Linked DNA regions of Homo sapiens: regions 1, 2, 3, 4, 6 and 7 are each linked to region 5. Evidence: promoter capture Hi-C in 16 types of primary human blood cells and fetal thymus (Javierre and others, 2016). All regions are on one chromosome and are shown on one strand. The core of a region is centred on a gene start or on the middle of the fragment in contact, and the rest is flanking DNA. Distances in the headings are between cores, read along the strand shown. Region 1 has its middle 16 kb from the start of ANKRD55. Region 2 overlaps ANKRD55 (ankyrin repeat domain 55). Region 3 has its middle 50 kb from the start of ANKRD55. Region 4 has its middle 33 kb from the start of ANKRD55. Region 5 holds the start of MAP3K1 (mitogen-activated protein kinase kinase kinase 1). Region 6 overlaps ANKRD55 (ankyrin repeat domain 55). Region 7 overlaps ANKRD55 (ankyrin repeat domain 55).

Region 1 (2,700 bases), core at 196-2,695, 570 kb before region 5:
AATGCTTCTTAAATTTCAATGGGCACAAACGTGATCTGGGGGATCAACCGAAGATGAACTTTCTGATTTAGTAGACCAGGGTAGGGGCAGAGATTCTGGATATCTGGCAAGTTACCAGATTATGTTGGTAGTTGGTCCATCTTTTGTGCAGCAAGGGGCTAGAATATTTCTCAATAACTAAATAAAAAAAAAATACACTTAAGGGCTTCTCCATGGAGGTTCACTACTGAACAGTAAAAACTCATAAATATAAACTAAGCTCCCAAAGAGCCTCAGAAAATCAATCTCTAACAGAGGTTAGCCAGAGGTGGACACTGGTTAATATCTGGCAACTCTGACCACCTTGAATCCCCGTGTCTATTTTCAGGTAAAAATGGAGTCACCTAATGGCTAGATGTTATCAGGGCCATACATGTCAGAGCTTCCTCAGAATTCTGCCCCATTCTAGTTCTACACACACAGAAAAATTACAGAACATATCTAAGTATTTCTCCAGTATGTATACTGGAGATAATCATGATACCCATTCTGAAAGGTTGTTGTGAGGATAAACTGGGGTAACAAGGCCGTGGTGTGCTAGTGGGTCCAGAATTGGTTCCTTCTGGGTTCTTGGTCTCGCTGACTTCAAGAATGAAGCCGCGGACCCTCATGGTGAGTGTTAAAGGTCTTAAAGATGTTGTGTCCAGAGTTTGTTCCTTCAGATGTTCAGACGTGTCCAGAGTTTCTTCCTTCTGGCGGCTTTGTGGTCTCGCTGACTTCAGGAGTGAAGCCACAGACCTACGCAGTGAGTGTTACAGATTCATTCCTCCCGCTGGGTTTGTGGTCTCACTGGCTTCATGAGTGAAGCTGCAGACCTTCCAGGTGAGTGTTACAGCCCGAAAAGCCAGTGTGGACCCAAAGTGTGAACAGCAGCAAGATTTACTGGGAAGAAACAAAGAACAAGACTGCCACACCTTGGAAGCGAACCCAACAGCATTGCAGCTGCTGGATCAGGTGACCTGCTTTATTCCCTTATTTGGCCCCACCCACATCCTGCTGATTGGTCCATTTTACAGAGAGCTGATTGGTCCATTTTACAGAGTGCTGATTGGTCCGTTTGACAGAGTGCTGATTGGTCTCTTTTGACAGAGTGCTGATTGGTGCGTTTACAAGCCTTTAGGTAGACACAGAGTGCTGATTGGTGCATTTACAATCCTTTAGCTAGACAGAAAAATTCTCCAAGTCCCCACCCGACCCAGAAGCCTAGCCTGCTTTACCTCTCACTAGCACTGTCTAGAGCTGTCTAGAGAACTTTCTTATCAAAAAATGTTGTAATTGGGTTTTTCTCAAGAAATGGTAAATTGGGGTCTCTCAAACTGGATGCTACATGAGGTATGACCATATTCTGTCATTATCCCATGATTGGTCAATGCTTGGCTCTTTCACCTTGCCAAGGAAACCACTGAGTGTAATTTCAGAGTTTTGGGAGTTCATTGCTCCATCCGTTTTGATCTCCATCACAAGAAGCAGGACTCCAAGCTGTACAGTTTAAGGATGGATCCCAAGATATTATTGTCTCTCCAAAGTTTGTACTATAATGAATATGCCAAAATTAGCATGGGGAGGAACACAATGTACGTATATAGGTAATATAAAATGAGCCTGTGACCCAGTTACAGCTTTCATACATTTTTCTAAATAATCGTAGCTGGTAGATTAATTGGAAGATGGCAGCTCCCGTAGCAAGTAGGGGGGTAATTTCCCTCTGGTGCATTTGTGCTGAAAACATGGGTTTACTATTCTGAACGTAAGGGACATTAACAATCAGCCTAGCCATTCCAACACCAATAGATCTTTCATTCTTCTTTAACTGTTCTTTTCTATTCCTCTACATTTCTCTGTTTCCTCCCCTGACTCCTCTTCAATGCCTTCTGGTGAAAAGAAAGAAGTGTCTTTTCTTTTTTGAGAATGCTAGGCTGCAATTAGTGTGCCTCCTTTGACACAAAAACTTTCCCCAGAGAGGTAGATTTACAACCTACAGTCCACTAAGCACATGGGCGTTGGAGCTTGACTGGCTAAATTCTAATCCCAGTTTTATAACGTGATGCTATCTCAGTTACGCCTTATTTCCCTCATCTGTAAGATGAGAATATCTTAGTGCCTTCTTCATAAAGTTTTTGAGTGAAGTAAATTGACTTAAATATGTCAAGTTCTTAGGGCAATGCCTTACATCGTAATTCTGATAGACATTTACCTTTAAGATTTCCATCAGTTATTCTATCTCTTTGTTGTTGTCGTTTGTTTTTATTGAGATGAAGTCTTGTTCTGTTGCCCAGGCTGGAGTGCAGTGGCGTGATCTTGGCTCACTGCAACGTGCGCCTCCCGGATTCAAGCAATTCTCCTGCCTCAGCCTCCTGAGTAGCTGGGATTACAGGCACTCACCACCACACCTGGCTAATTTTTGTATTTAGTAGAGGTGGGGTTTCACCATGCCACATTGGTCAGGCTGGTCTCGAACTCCTGACCTCAGGTGATCCACCCGCCTTGGCCTCCCAAAGTGATGGGATTATAGGCATGAGCCACTGCGCCTGGCCAAGTTATTCCATCTCTTTTGCAACTTCATCTTTTTCCCTCCTCAAGAAACTTTTCCTTAGCCTACACATATATCCTTCTTCAGGCCTTAAAAAAATAAAAATGAAACAAAACTGTGATGATGTGATG
Region 2 (2,700 bases), core at 18-2,517, 620 kb before region 5:
AGTATTAATCAATTCATCAGAGCAGAGCCCTCGTGCTCCAATCACCTCTAAAAAGCCTACCTCTTAATACTGGTACAATGACAGTTAAATTTCAACACAACTTTCAGTGGGAACATTCAAGTCATAGCAACTATTCTTTCCCTATTGAATGGTCTTGGCACTCTTGTGGAAAATCAGTTGACCATAAATGTATGGGATTATTTCTGGACTTTCAGTTCTATTCTACTGATCTATATGTCTGTCTGTATGCCAGTACCACACTGTTTTCATTACTGTAGCTTTGTAGTAAGTTTTGAAATCAGGAAGTGTGAAACCTCCAACTGTTCTTTTTGAAGATTGTTTTGGCTATTTTGGGGTCTCCTGAAATTCAATATGTATATTAGGATGATTTTTCTATTTCTGTAGAAAACATCATTGGGATTTTGACAGAGATTATATTGAATCTGTAGATTGCTTTGTGTAGTACTGGCATCTTAATAATATTAAGTTTTCTAATTCATGGAACATAAAATGTCTTTCCATTTACTGGTGTTTTCTTTAATTTCTTTCAGCAATGCTTTGTAGTTTTCAGTGTACCAGTCTTTTACCTCCTTGGTTATTCCTAAGTATTTTATTCTTTCTCATACTATTGTAAATAGAGTTGTTTTTCGAAGGGCTTTTATGCAAACAATTTTATGGTTAAATTGCTGTGTGAGACTCCAGTAGTTAGAAATAGCAGTGGGTGAGAGTGACAGAGAGACAGGTATTCTAATTATTATTAGAGCTTATAAAAATGGACCGAGTCACCTCAAGAAGTAGTGAGCTTCCTGTCACTGAAGATGACCTCTCTTGGCTAGATGACCACCAAACCTGTTTAGAAGGAATTTAGACATAAAGTGAAGCACAGTGTAGGGGGAAAAGGAAGACGTGTGAAGCAGAATAGCATGTACTTCAGAATTCCTTCTGGCCCTGCGATGTACACTAAACCACAGCACAACAAGGAAATAGGAAATGAAGGAGCTTCCCTAGAAGTTATTTAGAAAGAGCCAATCTAAGTTGCGGTCAATGCAAATAATTGGGCACAAACTTAGAAACTGTACAGAGAATTTCTATAGAAATGAGGAAGCATGATGTAGAAATAACAAGTACAAAGAAAAGTATGACTGATGGTCCTAATGGAATCTAAAATGAGAGCAGGAAAGTTTTTTTCTACTGACAATCAGAAACCCACTTATTAAGATGTCTAAAAGATCTACATAAACAAACAATACCTCAGTCCTTCCTTGTCTCCTTCCTATTGCTCCTCTCTCTCTCTCTCTCTTTCTCATCTATTTGTCATCTATGTTTCTTTCCACACTGCTTACATGAGGAGCATGTTTTGAATGGTCTTGCCTCTCTCACTGCTTTAAACAGATAGACTTCTGTACGGGTGCATAAAGAGAGATTCCAGAATACACACAGGGTGAGAGACTCTGAGGGTAGAAAATGGAAGAAACATGAAGAAATAGGAAGAAAGAAGCATGTGAAGACACGCAGATTATATTTTATTTAAAACTCTGCCGCTGCTGCCGGAGACTGATCTGGGCGGCAGTTGGCGGCCTCGGCTAGCGGCCAGGAGCCACTTCTGCGGGTGCCCAGAGAAGCAAAAGTCGCCGGTCCCATGTCGTCGCCCTCTCTGCCCCCCAGGAGGGGCAAGAGGGAGCCACGGCCGATGACAGAAATACACTTTCCGAGATGGCCTCTAAATCCTGGCTGAATTTTTTAACCTTCCTCTATGGATCGGCAATAGGGTTTATTTTATTTTCTCAGCTACTTAGTATTTTGTTGGGAGAAGAGGGTGACACCCAGACTAATGTTCTTCATAATGATCCTCATGCGAGGCATTCAGATGATAATGGACAGAATCATCTAGGAGGACAAATGAACTTCAATGCAGATTCTAGCCAACGTAAAGATGAGAACACAGACATCGCTGAAAACCTCTATTAGCAAGTTAAAATTCTTTGCTGGGTTATGACAGGCTCTCAAAACCTACAGAAAAAGGCCAAACATGTCAAAGCTACATGGGCCCAGCGTTGTCTAAAAGTATTTTTTATGAGTTCAGAAGAAAATAAAGACTTCCGTGCTGTGGGATTGAAAACCAAAGCAGGCAGAGATGAGCTATACTGGAAAACAATTAAACCTTTTCAGTATGTTCATGAACATCATTTAGAAGATGCTGATTGGTTTTTGAAAGCAGATGATGACACATATTTCATACTAGATAATTTGAGATGGCTTCTTTCAAAATATGATTCTAAAGAACACATTTATTTTAGGAGAAGATTTAAGCCCTTTGTAAAACAGGGCTGTATGAGTGGAGGAGCAGGATATTTACTAAGCAAAGAAAGCCTTGAAAAGATTTCTTGATGCATTTAAAACAGACAAGTGTCACATAGTTCCTCCACTGAAGACTTAGCACTGGGGAGATGCATGGAAATTATAAATGTAGAAGCAGGAGATTCCAGAGATCCCACTGGAAAAGAAACTTTTCATCCCTTTGTTTCAGAACACCATTTAATAAAGGTTATCTACCTAGAACCTTTTGGTACTGGAATTACAACTATTATCCTCCTGTAGAGGGTCCTGGTTGCTGTTCCGATCTTGCAGTTTCTTTTCACTATGTTGATTTTACAACTGTGTATGTGTTAGAATACCTCGTTTATCATCTTCATCCATATG
Region 3 (2,700 bases), core at 70-2,569, 530 kb before region 5:
AGTGAGAGAGAGAGAGAGAGAGAGAATAAATCCAGCAAATTAATAAAAGCATCAATCTAAGGCCACTGGTCCTGAATGCTAGGGCAAGATGAGAAAGCAGCTCAGGAAGTGATTATAATGAACAGAGAGACTCTGACCTGGAAGAAATCTTGTTACTCAGGATCAGGAAAATGTTAAACTCTTCTCAGCTAGTGTTTTTTTTATTAAAACATGCTGCATATAATTAATCACTCATAAATATACATTAAATAAGATGTCTGTAAAAGACACACATATAAAACAAGGTCATGTATTGTTTGGTTTATGAAATGTTGTGACCAGAGGCTGGAAGGAGCCTGGCTCTTCCCAGGAGCAGTGATTCAGTGTTCACTAATTCATTGTCTGCAGAGACTTTATAGACTAGACCATAACTAGGCTGAATAACAAGAATTGACTGTTTCCTGTCTTGTTTACTGTTGTCTCTCCCACTAGACAGTGTGGTGTACAAGGACAGGCGTTATGTCTGTTTTCCTCACCCCTAGATCCCTGCAACCCCTGGCACATAGTAAGTGCCAATAAGTGATTTTTTGTTTGAATGAATGAATGAAAGAGGAGGAGAATCATGAAAGTGTAGGGTCATAGAAGCCAGGAGAGTTTTTAGTACTAACGAGTCATTAACAACGTAGACAAAGCAGAGGGATTGGTGAGGGAAGGAGGGGAAGTGCCCATTTGCTGGCATATGGGAGCCTGGGAGACTGGTTTCAGCTGAGGAAGGAGGGGAAGTGCCCATTAGCTGGCATATGGGAGCCTGGGAGACTGGTTTCAGCTGAGGAAGGAGGGCAGAAGCCAGGCTGTAGCAACTGAGGAATGGACAATGAGGAAGAAGAAAGAGTGTAGGCTACATTTTTGAAAGTTTGGGTGAGAAGGGGAGGAAAGGGATTTGATAGAAGCTAGAGGAGCACCTGATCAAGGGGTGGGTGTTTCAGACCTGGAGAAGTGCTCTCATAATTATAAGCTTTGGGGGCAAGCATCCCAGAGGGAGGAAGAGGCTGGGCGTGTAGCACCTGGAAAGAAAGGAATGTGGCTCAGGGCAAAGGTTAACTCTGAACAAGAAGAGGAAGATCTAAGCTGCAGCAGCTAGGGAAAAGGAAAAATGGATGAGTGTGAATGTAAATGTACTTACAGTGAAGGGGGCAGGAAGGTGAAACGGGTCCTTCCTGATCACCTTGGTGTCTCCTGGTGCATTAGGAGGCCAGGTGTGATGTAAGAGAAGGAGAGAGAGGTCTTGTGAAGACTGAGCTGAGGCTTGGTGAAGGTGAGGGAGTTCACGCTGGATGAATCAAAGGATTATTGGATAGATTGATGCTGGAGGTCCAGGATGCTGTGTTGGCCTTCGCAGCCAGGGTGAAAGGAGCAGATGAGGCTGGTTATGGTGCTGCTGCCCAGCCTGTATGTTTTGCTGGGCAGGTGCAGTAGGAGGATTGTGGTGTGAGGGAGCTGAAGAATCTGTGAGAGAAGAGGACTTGTGATCAACAATGAAGTTCAGGCTGGAGCAGGCTGATGACTAGGAGAAGACAGAGGATCAGGGGCTTGTGGTGTCTCTGAGGTAGAAGAGCAGATATGGAGGGATGAGGAGATGAGATGGGGGGTCAGGGTTTCATGAGGGAAAGCTTCAGGTGATGATCAAGCCCAGAGTGTCACCATGCCTGTGGGTGGGCAGCTGAAGGTCAGTAGAGTTCCTGGTATTCAGGAGATCCAGGGATTGCATGGATCCAGTCATCCAGCTAGTCTTGCATTGATTTCGCATCGGTTTAGTCTTGACTGATTTTTGCATTGATTAGATCTTGCACTGAATAAGCTTTTTACTGTGGTTTTTCAGGCCTGAGGCAGGTGACAGTGAAACAACCTGTTGAGGTTGTTTCAGTGAGATTGTTAAGCATCATATGTCCAAGGGAAATATTAATTTCACCAAGTCAGACATATGTAAGACAGCCATCCTTTCCTCTATATATCACACAAAGCTAAATGGATCTATTATTTGAAAGAAACTTGAAAGAAAATTTTGCATATCTACAAGGAGTGTGGTATGAAGGAAAAAAGATTAACATATCCAAATAATGGTCCTGGCTCTGTCACTAACTAACCTTGTGATCCTGGGCAGGTTTAACACTCTGGGCCCCAGTTTACAGACACCTACTGCCTCCAGAACAGTTCTTCCCAGTCTGACTTCTTAACCCATCGTATTCAGGCTTTCATCCCCAGCACAACCTACCTGCCCATTGAGAACTGTTAGTGACTCCAAATGGTCCATCCCGGTGGCTTCTTACCTGGTCTTGATCTCCTTGACTTCAGAGAGAGTGGCACTTGGCATTGTGGGCCATCGCCTCTGCAGATTCTTCTTCTTCTTTTTTTTTTTTTTTTGAGACGGAGTCTTGCTCTGTCTCCCAGGCTGGAGTGCAGTGGCGCAATCTCTCACTGCAAGCTCCGCCTCCCGGGTTCACGCCATTCTCCTGCCTCAGCCTCCCGAGTAGCTGGGACTACAGGCGCCCGCCACCACGCCCGGCTAATTTTTTGTATTTTTAGTAGGGACAGGGTTTCACCGCGTTAACCAGGACGGTCTCGATCTGCTGACCTCATGATCCGCCCGCCTCGACCTCCCAAAGTGCTGGGATTACAGGCGCGAGCCACCGTGCCCGGCCCAGATTCTTCTTAACTTTGCTT
Region 4 (2,700 bases), core at 188-2,687, 550 kb before region 5:
AAAGGCATATGGAAAGGACTTGGTATAGTACTTGTCAGAGATGGTTATTATTTTTAGGTGACCACACCAAAGTTGTAAAATATGTTAGTGTTTGATACCTCCTTGTTGGGATTATAATATAAAATGTCTGGGGCTAGAATTTAGCCAGATCCCACTGGTGACACCTCATCTCTGGTTGGAATTTCCTGCCCTCTTCTCAAAGTACATACCTTTGTCACTTCACATGGATAATTGTTGAAGTAATTTACTTATTGTTTGTCCTGGCTTCAATGTTGCCTTCTTCATCTCCAATTTCATTCATTCATTCATTCATTCATTCTTTTTTTTTTTTTTCCAAGACAGAATCTCTCTCTGTTGCCCAGGCTGGAGTGCAGTGGCATGATCTCGGCTCACTGCAACCTCTGCCTCCTGGGTTCAAGTGATTCTCCTGCCTCAGCCTCCCTAGTAGCTGGGACCACAGGTGCCACCGCCACGCCTGTTGAGTTTTTGTATTTTTAGTAGAAAGCCATGTTGGCCAGGCTTGTCTCGAGCTCCTGGCCTTAAGTGATCCTCCTGCCTCTGTGTCCCAAAGTGCTGGGATTACAGGCGTGAGCCACCACACCCGGCCCTTTCTTTCTCTTTTTAAATATAATTTTGTCATCTTTCTTCTAGACAATAGATTATCCCTTTAAAACATTTTTCTTGTAAGACATTTACTTTTGTTAAATGGTGAAAAGTTAACAGTTTCTTATCTAGATTTATAAAGATTTTTTAAAAATTTCAACTTTTATTTTAGATACAGGGGTACATATGCAGGTTTATTACATAAATGGACTGCACCCAGGTCATGAGCATAGTACCCAATAGGTAGTTTTTCACCTCATTCCCTCCCACCCTCTCCCATCTAGTAGTCTGCAGTGTCTGTTGTTCCCATGTTTATGTCTATGTATGTTCAATATTTAGCTCCCACTTTTAAGTGAGAACATGCAGCATTTGGTTTTCTGTTCCTGCATTAACTCACTTAGGATTATGGCCTCCAGCTCCATCCATGTTGCTGCAAAGGACATGATTCATTCTTGTTTATGTCTGTGGAATATTCCATGGTGTATATGTTCTACATTTTCTTTATTCAGTCCATCATTTATTGGCACCTAAGTCAATTCCATGGCTTTGCTATTGTGAGTAGCATGGCAATGAACATATGAGTGCATGTGTCTTTTTGGTATAATAATTTATTTTCCTTTGGGCATATACCCAATAATGGGATTTCTGGGTCGAATGGTAGCTCTGTTTTAAATTCTCTGAGAAGTCGCCAAACTGCTTTCCACAGTGGCTGATCTAATTTACATTCCCACCAACAGTGTATAGGTATTCCGTTTTCTCTGCAGCCTTGCCAGCATCTGTTTTTTTTTTTTTTTTTACTTTTTAGTAATGGTCATTCTGAATGGCGTGAGATAGTGTCTCATGGTGGTTTTGATTTCCATTTCTCTGATGATTAGTGATGATGAACTTTTTTTTTTTTTTGAGATGGAGTCTCGCTTTGTTGCTCAAGCTGGAATGCAGTGACGCGATCTTAGCTCACTGCAACCTCCACCTCCCAGGTAGGTGGGTTCAAATGATTCTCCCACCTTAGCCGCCCAAGTAGCTGGGATTACAAGTGCGCCACCACACCCTGCTAATTTTTTTTTTGTATTTTTAGTAGAGATGGGGTTCCACCATGTTGACTAGGCTGGTCTCTAACTCCTGACCTCAAGTGATCCTCCTGCCCAGGCCTCTCAAAGTGCTGGGATGACAGGCATGAGCCATCGCACCCAGCCAGATGAGCATTTCTTCATATGTTTGTTGGCCACTTGCATGTCTTCTGAGAAGTGTCTGTTTAGGTCCTCTGCCCATTTTTTAATGAGGTTATTTGGTTTTTGCTTGTTGATTAGTTTAATTTCCTTATAGAGTCTGGATATTAGACTTTTTTCAGATGCATAGTTTGCAAATATTTTCTCCCGTTCCCTAGATTGTCTATTTACTCTGTTGATAGTTTCTTTTGCTGTGTAAAAGCTCTTTAGTTTAATTAGGTTCCACTCATCAACTTTGTTTTGGTTTCAATTGTTTTTATTTCCCTCTCATTTCTGAAGGCTTTTTTCAAGGAGGCCCTTCCATAATCCTAACTTCCATGTGCTTCTGTCACCTGACCACCATTATCCACCCACTAACATCCATGCAAAAAGGGTGTGCAGTGGCAGCAGGGTAACTCTTGGGACCCCAATGAGCTTTGTGCATTTTCACTTCTCAGCCTGTGTGTGCTCTCCCTCTCCTTCTCCCTCCTTCCTTGGAAGGTCTTCTCCATCCTCTCTTTACCCCAAACCACATCTACATCTCCAGGATCCCTCTTCCGTGAAGGTCTCATCCATCCCATGCTGATCTCCCCACTTTGAACTCCCTTTGCTCTTATGAGGCATTACAGATTGCTGGATATTTAAAGGCATGGTCTTTGGTGTCGGACAGCCTGGAATAAAATCCTGGCAAATGATTTAAACTTTATGTGGGTTGGTTTCCTTACCCCTAAAGTGGCAATAATTATAGTACCTACTTAATAAAGTTGTTTTGAGGATTCAACAACATGATTTATATAAAGCATTTAGCACAGTCGTTGGAACAGAGTAAACACTCAATACACTGCCACTATTACTATCCTGATCAGTATTATCAGTAAAGAGATTACTTGAT
Region 5 (2,700 bases), core at 56-2,555:
CTGGGTTTTGGGAGATTCCCCATCCTAAACAAACCAGCTGGAGGAAAGGAAAGGAAGGAAGAAATAAACGCAACACAGAAGTTCTCCTCAGTTGACAAAAGGTCAAAAATCATTAACGTGTAAATGTTGCTTTTTCCATCCCAAAGCACCTTCTCACGTAGAGTCCAGGGACTAGGAGGACTCACAACGCAGCGATGGGCAGCCAGGCCCTGCAGGAGTGGGGACAGAGGGAACCCGGCCGGTGGCCCGACCCTGCAGGGAAGAAGGACGTGCGGCGAGAAGCATCGGATTCGGGGAGGGCCGGGACCTGGCCGAGGGTGACATTACCGAGCACTTCCTGGCACAGCGCTGGTCCCCTCCCCAAACGCGCTATATGTGGTTCTGTACGGGACTGCCTTTCCCAAAGACAGCCAAGGAAAAACTAAAGATCGACGGGGACACCCGCCTCCCTTCCTCGCCCCAACGGTTTCTCAGAGGCTGTGGGGACTTGGTGAGGGTAGGGGGTAGTTGTCCCAAATCAGCAGCTTCAGGATGTAAGGTATTACAGAAAACTTTGAAGTTTTGTTATCTGTAGCACAGGGACAGGGGTGGGACAATAGAGAAGGAATGTTTTCTTTTCAAAAGAAAACACAAACAAAACTTTATTTTTCTGGTCCGCGGCAGCCTGTCTGCTGAACGTTGACTTGCTTTCGCTTTGCAGCAGGCGACGGTCCCGGGCGCCACCTGCGCGTCGGTGGGAGGCTGGTCCACGCCCGGGTCCCCCGACGCCCACTGCAAAGGGCAGTGGGAATGACAGACTGTAAACCCTCTCGCCTGCGTCCCCTTCAAGCACCAGAAACCCAAGTTGGAACTAATTCTTTCTTTCGGAAGGTGCAACTCCCCTCCCGCGAGCTCCGCGGTGCCGGGCCGAGATTGCCGAGAGGAAGCGGCGCAGCGCTGCCGCCAAGGCTCCTCCTGTCGCCGGTGCGGCCGGGACTACCTGGCGGCGCGGCGCGTGCAGCGCGCAGAGTCCCGGGAGCCCACGCCTCCGCCTCCGCCCCCGCCCCCTCCGCCTCCCAGTCCACCTCGCCCGCCCGCCCTCTCGCCCGGCGGAGAGCACAGCCCACTCCCTCCCACCTGCGGCCGCCGGGCCGCCCTCCACCCACACCTCTGCCGCAGGCCGGACCCAGTGCGCCCGCCCGTCGGTCAGTCCAGGCCAGGCGCCCGGCGGGCCGCGCTCACGCAGTTGGCGCAGGAGGCCTTACGCTGGCGGCGCAGTGCCCGCCCCCTGCGCTCTCCCCGCCCCCTCCCTCCCTCGCAGGGGCCGAGCGAATGTAGCCCGCGAGAGAAAATGGCGGCGGCGGCGGGGAATCGCGCCTCGTCGTCGGGATTCCCGGGCGCCAGGGCTACGAGCCCTGAGGCAGGCGGCGGCGGAGGAGCCCTCAAGGCGAGCAGCGCGCCCGCGGCTGCCGCGGGACTGCTGCGGGAGGCGGGCAGCGGGGGCCGCGAGCGGGCGGACTGGCGGCGGCGGCAGCTGCGCAAAGTGCGGAGTGTGGAGCTGGACCAGCTGCCTGAGCAGCCGCTCTTCCTTGCCGCCTCACCGCCGGCCTCCTCGACTTCCCCGTCGCCGGAGCCCGCGGACGCAGCGGGGAGTGGGACCGGCTTCCAGCCTGTGGCGGTGCCGCCGCCCCACGGAGCCGCGAGCCGCGGCGGCGCCCACCTTACCGAGTCGGTGGCGGCGCCGGACAGCGGCGCCTCGAGTCCCGCAGCGGCCGAGCCCGGGGAGAAGCGGGCGCCCGCCGCCGAGCCGTCTCCTGCAGCGGCCCCCGCCGGGTGAGCAGCACGGCCGGGGTCGCGGCGGGGACTTGGAGAGCGGGCAGAGGGCAATGAATGAACCCCGGGCACCATGCACGGCGTCCCGGGGTTCAGCGCAGCGAGGCTACGCGCCGCTCGCCGGGACCTACGCCCCTGAGCACCCCCCGACCCCTTCGGAGTCGGGCGGCGCCCCGGACCCAGCCTGGGGGACCGGACGGGGACGTGCGGAAGAGTTTGTTATTGTTTGCAGACATGTGACAGGCGTGCGAGCCTCTCTGCGGGGAACCGTTGCGAAAAGGTGTAGGGGGCCACGGCTGGCTTTGTGGGACTCCTGGAATCGGGGCTCTCCGAGGAGCCCGGGGGCGGGGCACGGCCCTGCGGCGGCGCCCCCGGACGGGTGTCCCCGGGGCAAAGGCACTGGGGGGCGAGGCCCGAGCCTGAGGCGGGCGGTGGTCGGAAGAGGGGCGGGGTGGGTGAGAAGCCCGAGGTCGGGTGGGAGACTGAGAGGACCGAAGAGAAAGTAGCAGGTCCCAGCGGCCGTGACAGGCAGAGCCCCTCGGCCCGCCCGGGACTCGAGTCCCTAGGCAGATACCGCGGGCTGGGCCCGGACGCAGGCGGCGCGCCCCCAGCGCCGGCCGCAGGGCTCCAGGAGGACGGCTCGGTAACGCCTGTCAAAGCCGTGCGGCGGGAGGCTGCACACTCGCGGAGGCTTGCAGTCTTTTAGGAAGTGCGGTTTGTCTAATTGCAGCCCCCAAGGGGCTTTGAGTGTTCCTGGGAATGCGAACTGCACTGCTAAGTCACTTGAGTGACTTCTGTTTGGAGTTTGAATTTGGCCTTTGAAGTTTGCATTTGGCGGAGTGGTGTAAGAGCCAGGACCGGATGTGTCAGCCATTCAGTTTCAAAGCA
Region 6 (2,700 bases), core at 155-2,654, 580 kb before region 5:
TGCAGGAAGCTTCCTATTGCCCTGTTGTATGGATGGAGAACACCTGGGCCTCAGTCCCCTCTGTTGCTATTTAGTGGGGTGTTGTTATTATTATTAGGAAGGACCCAACTTTGAACCTCTCTGTGCTTTAGTTCCCTCATCTGAAATGTGGAAGAGGGGTAGGTTGGATGACTGGTTCTGCATCTTTGCTGTCCATGAGAACTTCCCAAGGAGTGTTGGTTGGGCCAACCACTGCAGTTAAACTGGAATCTCCCTGGGTGGGATGCAAGCATCAGCATTTTCAGAATTTCTTCAGATGATTCTTTTTTCTTTTTTTTGAGACAGAGTCTTGCTCTGTCGCCAGGTTGGAGTGCAGTGGCCTGATCTCAGCTCACCGCAACCTCCACCTCCCAGGTTCAAGCGATTTCCTGCCTCAGCCTCCCGAGTAGCTGGGACTACAGGCGTGTGTCACCATGCCCAGCTAATTTTTGTATTTTCAGTAGAGACAGGCTTTCACCCTGTTGGCCAGGATGGTCTCGATCTCTTGACCTTGGGATCTGCCCACCTCGGCCTCCCAAAGCACTGGGATTACAGGCGTGAGCCTTGCGCCCGGCCCAGATGATTCTTAAGTACAGCCAATGTGAGAACCAACAGGTTACTTGATTGCTAAGATTCTTCCAGCTGCAATGTCTTCTGTCCCCATCTGCATGTAAAGACAGTACTGCTAGGGTTCACTTATCCAGACAGTAACGATTCATGAAAAACCCTCAACTAAAGCCCCATGTTCAACTTTTCCCGAGAAAGTCACCTCCCTTTGGTTTGTCCAACAATATAGTATTTAAAATCTGTATAATGGTCTCAACCCTCATGGTCTTTCATGCTTTTAAGAAAGAGGAAGGATTAATGGGTAATAAAACTATTCAGGAATGGCTTAGTTAATTATTATTCTAGGTCTTGCTATAAATGGTATCCTAGGGTTCTGAAAAAAATAATTAATGTAATTTAGTCATCCAGCACTAAGCCCTCATTTGATCTGAGGACTGCTACATTCAGGCTGAAGGTAGAGAGATGAGTAGTCTTTTGCACTTCAGAAACTCCCAGTCCAAGGTGATAATAACAACAGCAATAATAATAACAGCTGCAGCCAAAATGGGAAAATACTTATTGAATATCAGGCATTGCTAACAGGTGCTTTTTATATGTTATTATTTTAGATCCTCACAACAACCCTGCTAGGTAAGCATCATTTCCTTCATTGTATTCCTGGGGAAACTAAGGCCCAGAGAGGTTAGGTAACTTGCCAAGGTCACACAGCTAAGAAGTAGATGATCTGCCATTCTGATCTACGTCTATAAGATTTAAAATCCCATGCTCTTTCCATCATATGATAAAACCTCTAGAAAGAGAGAAAGGATTGAGAAATAGAGATAAAGATGGCAGGGAGAGGGTTAACTTCCATGGGAGAGAATCCGGCCCAGGTGGAGGAATTGCTGTGAATTGCTCACATGAAAGGTGTTAAAAGAAAATCAGTCTTGTAATTCTGTATCTTAACTATGTTTGGGGCTCAATCCTGTTAGAAGGTACAGCACTGGAACATGTAAATTCATTATGAAGAGCTAGTTCTTCTTCAGTCAGTCCCAGCTCCCTCCAATTAGTCTTCAAAAATAAACCCATTGTATGTTTCGTGGCTTAGCAACATCATTTTTCAGCCAGTGTGAGCTCTTTGGTTCTTAGCAGATTTTCACTTTTACTGACTGCCATCAGTGATATAAAATGTACCAGGAGGAGAGGATGGTGGTGGGCACAGCTGTGACAACGCCTTTCTCTATGCTGTTCAGATCCAAACACGGTATGAGCCGGCACGTTCTGAAGGCGCGCACACACACACACACACACACACACACACACACACACACACACATACACATACACAAACACTATTCCAAATGAGCTAAGACCTGGAGAACACACTATACACATATATACATTAGCTAACTCAGGAATCTAAATATAAATTTATTTTTGGAGAAACCCCCTGGGCTAAAATAATTCACCCACAAAGCCAGATGTAGCTTGAGGGGTAATAAACATGCTATGGCCTAGAGCAGGAAAAGGGAAAAAAGAATGAAGCAGTACATTTTCTTAATGAGGCTTTTTCAAACCACCATTTCATGTTGTAGCCAAAACAGATAAAATCACCAAAGGAACTTAGGATCTTGAAGAATATTCAGAGACTGTAGAAAGTGGTTTAAATAATAGATATTTAAGAAAAGATTCTAAAAAATATTTATTATGTTTATAAAATGGAAATTTCATGTTTATACTAAAAAAAGATTTACTATTACACATAAGTATTACACGAAGATGTATATAAACACATTGCATATGCAAAATGTATACACATAGACCACATGGCCAAATATGTGATATTATAAGGATAAGTTGATCTCACAGCAACATTTTGATGTGGAAAATTACCTCCACTCCAGAAATTATAAGTAAGGAAGATATACCCTGGCATTGCAAATAATAGCATAGGGATATGTCATTACACAACCTTGGATGAGATAACATATCAACCCGACATAAATACAGGCAACATCTATTCCTGAAAGGAATAAAAAAATGCTTACGAAGATACAGCAATGAGATACTGGGCTAATCGAATGACAAAAAAAATGTGATGTGTTCTTACATTGCTTACCCTAATTTTTAAAAAAG
Region 7 (2,700 bases), core at 1-2,500, 660 kb before region 5:
TAAAAACTCTCACTTTCTCCCTGTAATAATTATAAGAATAATATGTCTGACATTTTTAAAAAAAGACTTTAGAATGGGAGTTTTCATAATTTAAATCAGACAAGAAAAACAATAAAACGAACTTAGGCCATAGAAGTCTAGGAGCCAATTCTAACAAGAACAAACTTATAAAACAAAGCCTTCAGAATAGAAGCCTAAGTTGATAGATTTAATTTTCAACAAAAAAAGAACATCTACATTCTTCTGCACTAAACTGTGAACTCCATCATAGCAGGGATGAAGCCCACATGAGACATGGCAGGTACTGAACAAATATTTGTTGAATAATTAAAATAAAACAATCTTCCTGTTCCAAGGAGATCACCTTGGGAGGCTATACAATTATTCTACTCATTGCTCAAAATACTTTTGGGAGGTTTTTTTTTGGAAATTGCCACTAGAGCAAGAGCTCTATCCATGGATAGAAATAAGGATGTGTGAGTTTCATCAGAGAAATAATTACATCTTTATTTTCACTAACTTCTTTTTTTTTTTTTTTTGAGACGGAGTCTCATTCTGTCACCCAGGCTGGAGTGCAGTGGCACCATCTCGGCTTACTGCAACCTCCACCTCCTGGGTTCAAGAGATTCTCCTGCCTCAGCCTCTCTAGTAGCTGGGACTACAGGTGCGAGCCACCACGCCCGTTGAATTTTTGTATTTTTAGTAGAGATGGGCGTCACCATATTGGCCAGGCTGGTCTTGAACTCCTAGACCTCATGATCCGCCTGCCTTGGCCTCCCAAAGTGCTAGGATTACAGGCGTGAGCCACTGCGCCCGGCCTATTTTCACTAACTTCTAATTGAAATTTAACATCTTTTTCAATTATGAATATAGGCAACAACCCACAGTAGTATAAACAGTACCTGTGACTTTGCCACCTCTATAAATTATAGGTACAGTGCTATTACATTAGTGATTGCAGATCACTACATGTCTCACTACTTCAACAATTGTAGCAGTTTGTGCTCCTACCATCAAATCTTATTTAACGCATTAATAAACAACCTTATATGTTATTATCATAAATTTGGTCTTTAAAATGTTTTCTAGCCTTGGCAACATGGTGAAACTCTGCCTCTACAGAAAAAAAAAAAATTAGTTGGGTATGGTGGTATGCGCCTGTAGTCCCAGCTACTTGGGAGGCTGAGGTGGGAGAGTCACTTGAGCCTGGGAGGCAGAGGTTGCAGTGAACTGAGATTGCACCACTGCACTCTGGCCTCACAGAGTGAGACCCCGTCTCAATAAATAAATAAATAGGCTGGGCGTGGTGCCTCACACCTGTAATCCCAGCCCTTTAGGAGGCCAAGGTGGATGAATCATTTGAGGTCAGGAGTTCGAGACCAGCCTGGCCAACATGGTGAAATCCCGCCTCTACTAAAAAATACAAAAATTAGCCACGTGTGGCGGTGGGTGCCTGTAATCCCAGCTACTCGGTAGGCTGAGGCAGGAGAATCACTTGAACCCTGGAGGTGGAGGTTGCAGCTAGCTGAGATCGCACCACTGCACTCCAGCCTTGGCGACAAAGCGAGACTCCGTCTCAATAAATAAATAAATAAAAGAATGTTTTGATAGCTGTATTTTAATATTTTGATTTCTTTCGCAATCTTATATGTTTCATTTTCTGTAATTTCAGATATTTTTCCTTTTTGATATTTTTTTCCTTTTAAAAAGAAGTTTAAATAGAGATGAGGTTTAGCCATGTTGCCCAGGCTGATCCTGAACTCCTGAGCTCAAGCAATCCTCCTGCCTCGGCCTCCCAAAGGGCTGGGATTACAGGTGTGAGTCACTGCACCCAGCCTAATTTCAGGTATGTTTCTGAGAAGTTATCCATAGGTTTCACAAACACATGAAGATGTGTCCATGTCATAAATATGGGTAAGGACTCCTGCTCTAAAGTCTACAGGACATTTTTAAAAAATTCTAATTGGTATAAAATTTTATTTACTTATTTATATCTCATAAACACCTCTAATACCATGAAAATCTTAGTTTTTTGAGAGTAGGTTTTGGAAATAACAGTCACCTGGAGTCAAGTCTGGGAAATAAATTGGATAGCTGAGTCAACAAAACAAAAGAAGAAAGGGCCATAAAATAAAATAACATGACTTTTTCTTGAATTTAATTCTTTCTTTCTCCCTAGATATAACATATCTAGATATAATATATATCTAGGCTGGGCGTGGTGGCTCACGCCTATAATCCCAGCACTTTGGGAGGCCGAGGCAGGTGGATCACTTGAGGACAGGAGTTCGAGACCAGCCTGGCTAACCTGGTGAAACCCCATCTCCACAAAAAATACAAAAATTAACCGGGCATGGTGGCAGGCACCTGTAATCCCAGCTACTTAAGAGGCTGAGGCAGGAGAATCACTTGAACCCAAGAGGCGGAGGTTGCAGTGAGCCAAAATAGTGCCACTGCATTCTAGCCTGGGTGACACAGTGAGACCACATCTCGGAAAAAAAAAAATCTATATATATATATGTGTGTGTGTATATATATGTATATATACGTGTGTATATATACATATACATACACACGTATATGTGTGTATATACACATATATGTATATATGTATATATGTGTGTGTATATATATATAAAAAATTTTTGTGCCTCACTAAAGCTTTTGTGCAAGCTACTGAACTAGAAACTGGGGATACAA

What was found. Contacts are between HindIII fragments. The CHiCAGO score rates a contact against its expected background, and 5 or more counts as called.
Region 1: a fragment that was not itself captured here is called in contact with the fragment with the promoter of MAP3K1 in region 5 in 12 of 17 cell types (naive B cells, neutrophils, total B cells and 9 more); the score reaches 11.5 in naive B cells.
Region 2: a contact is called between a fragment that was not itself captured here and the fragment with the promoter of MAP3K1 in region 5, in 1 of 17 cell types (naive CD4 T cells). The highest score is 5.1, in naive CD4 T cells.
Region 3: a fragment that was not itself captured here is called in contact with the fragment with the promoter of MAP3K1 in region 5 in 16 of 17 cell types (naive B cells, total B cells, erythroblasts and 13 more); the score reaches 30.3 in naive B cells.
Region 4: a fragment that was not itself captured here is called in contact with the fragment with the promoter of MAP3K1 in region 5 in 17 of 17 cell types (total B cells, naive B cells, activated CD4 T cells and 14 more); the score reaches 32.0 in total B cells.
Region 6: a contact is called between a fragment that was not itself captured here and the fragment with the promoter of MAP3K1 in region 5, in 1 of 17 cell types (naive CD4 T cells). The highest score is 5.7, in naive CD4 T cells.
Region 7: a fragment that was not itself captured here is called in contact with the fragment with the promoter of MAP3K1 in region 5 in 1 of 17 cell types (neutrophils); the score reaches 5.3 in neutrophils.

Annotation. Positions count from the first base shown.
Region 1 is chr5:56,248,220-56,250,919 of GRCh38, forward strand. No RefSeq gene overlaps it. Among named protein-coding and RNA genes, the nearest start is that of ANKRD55, 16 kb to the left of the region's middle. The HindIII fragment of the contact is 5,147 bases long and covers 1-2,700 here.
Region 2 is chr5:56,190,835-56,193,534 of GRCh38, forward strand. All of the region lies in intron 2 of ANKRD55 (ankyrin repeat domain 55), which reads right to left. It also overlaps the pseudogene C1GALT1P2. Among named protein-coding and RNA genes, the nearest start is that of ANKRD55, 41 kb to the right of the region's middle. The HindIII fragment of the contact is 3,374 bases long and covers 1-2,700 here.
Region 3 is chr5:56,282,085-56,284,784 of GRCh38, forward strand. No RefSeq gene overlaps it. Among named protein-coding and RNA genes, the nearest start is that of ANKRD55, 50 kb to the left of the region's middle. The HindIII fragment of the contact is 655 bases long and covers 993-1,647 here.
Region 4 is chr5:56,265,165-56,267,864 of GRCh38, forward strand. No RefSeq gene overlaps it. Among named protein-coding and RNA genes, the nearest start is that of ANKRD55, 33 kb to the left of the region's middle. The HindIII fragment of the contact is 3,064 bases long and covers 1-2,700 here.
Region 5 is chr5:56,814,244-56,816,943 of GRCh38, forward strand. MAP3K1 (mitogen-activated protein kinase kinase kinase 1) reads left to right here and starts at 1,306. Exons shown (of 20, transcript NM_005921.2): 1 at 1,306-1,812. The coding sequence starts at 1,331. RefSeq lists enhancers at 534-663, 2,115-2,700 and silencers at 1,024-1,793, 1,864-1,983, 2,164-2,403. The HindIII fragment of the contact is 8,983 bases long and covers 1-2,700 here.
Region 6 is chr5:56,229,798-56,232,497 of GRCh38, forward strand. The region is part of intron 2 of ANKRD55 (ankyrin repeat domain 55); the gene reads right to left. Among named protein-coding and RNA genes, the nearest start is that of ANKRD55, 2.2 kb to the right of the region's middle. The HindIII fragment of the contact is 2,795 bases long and covers 8-2,700 here.
Region 7 is chr5:56,149,321-56,152,020 of GRCh38, forward strand. All of the region lies in intron 6 of ANKRD55 (ankyrin repeat domain 55), which reads right to left. Among named protein-coding and RNA genes, the nearest start is that of ANKRD55, 83 kb to the right of the region's middle. The HindIII fragment of the contact is 2,817 bases long and covers 1-2,659 here.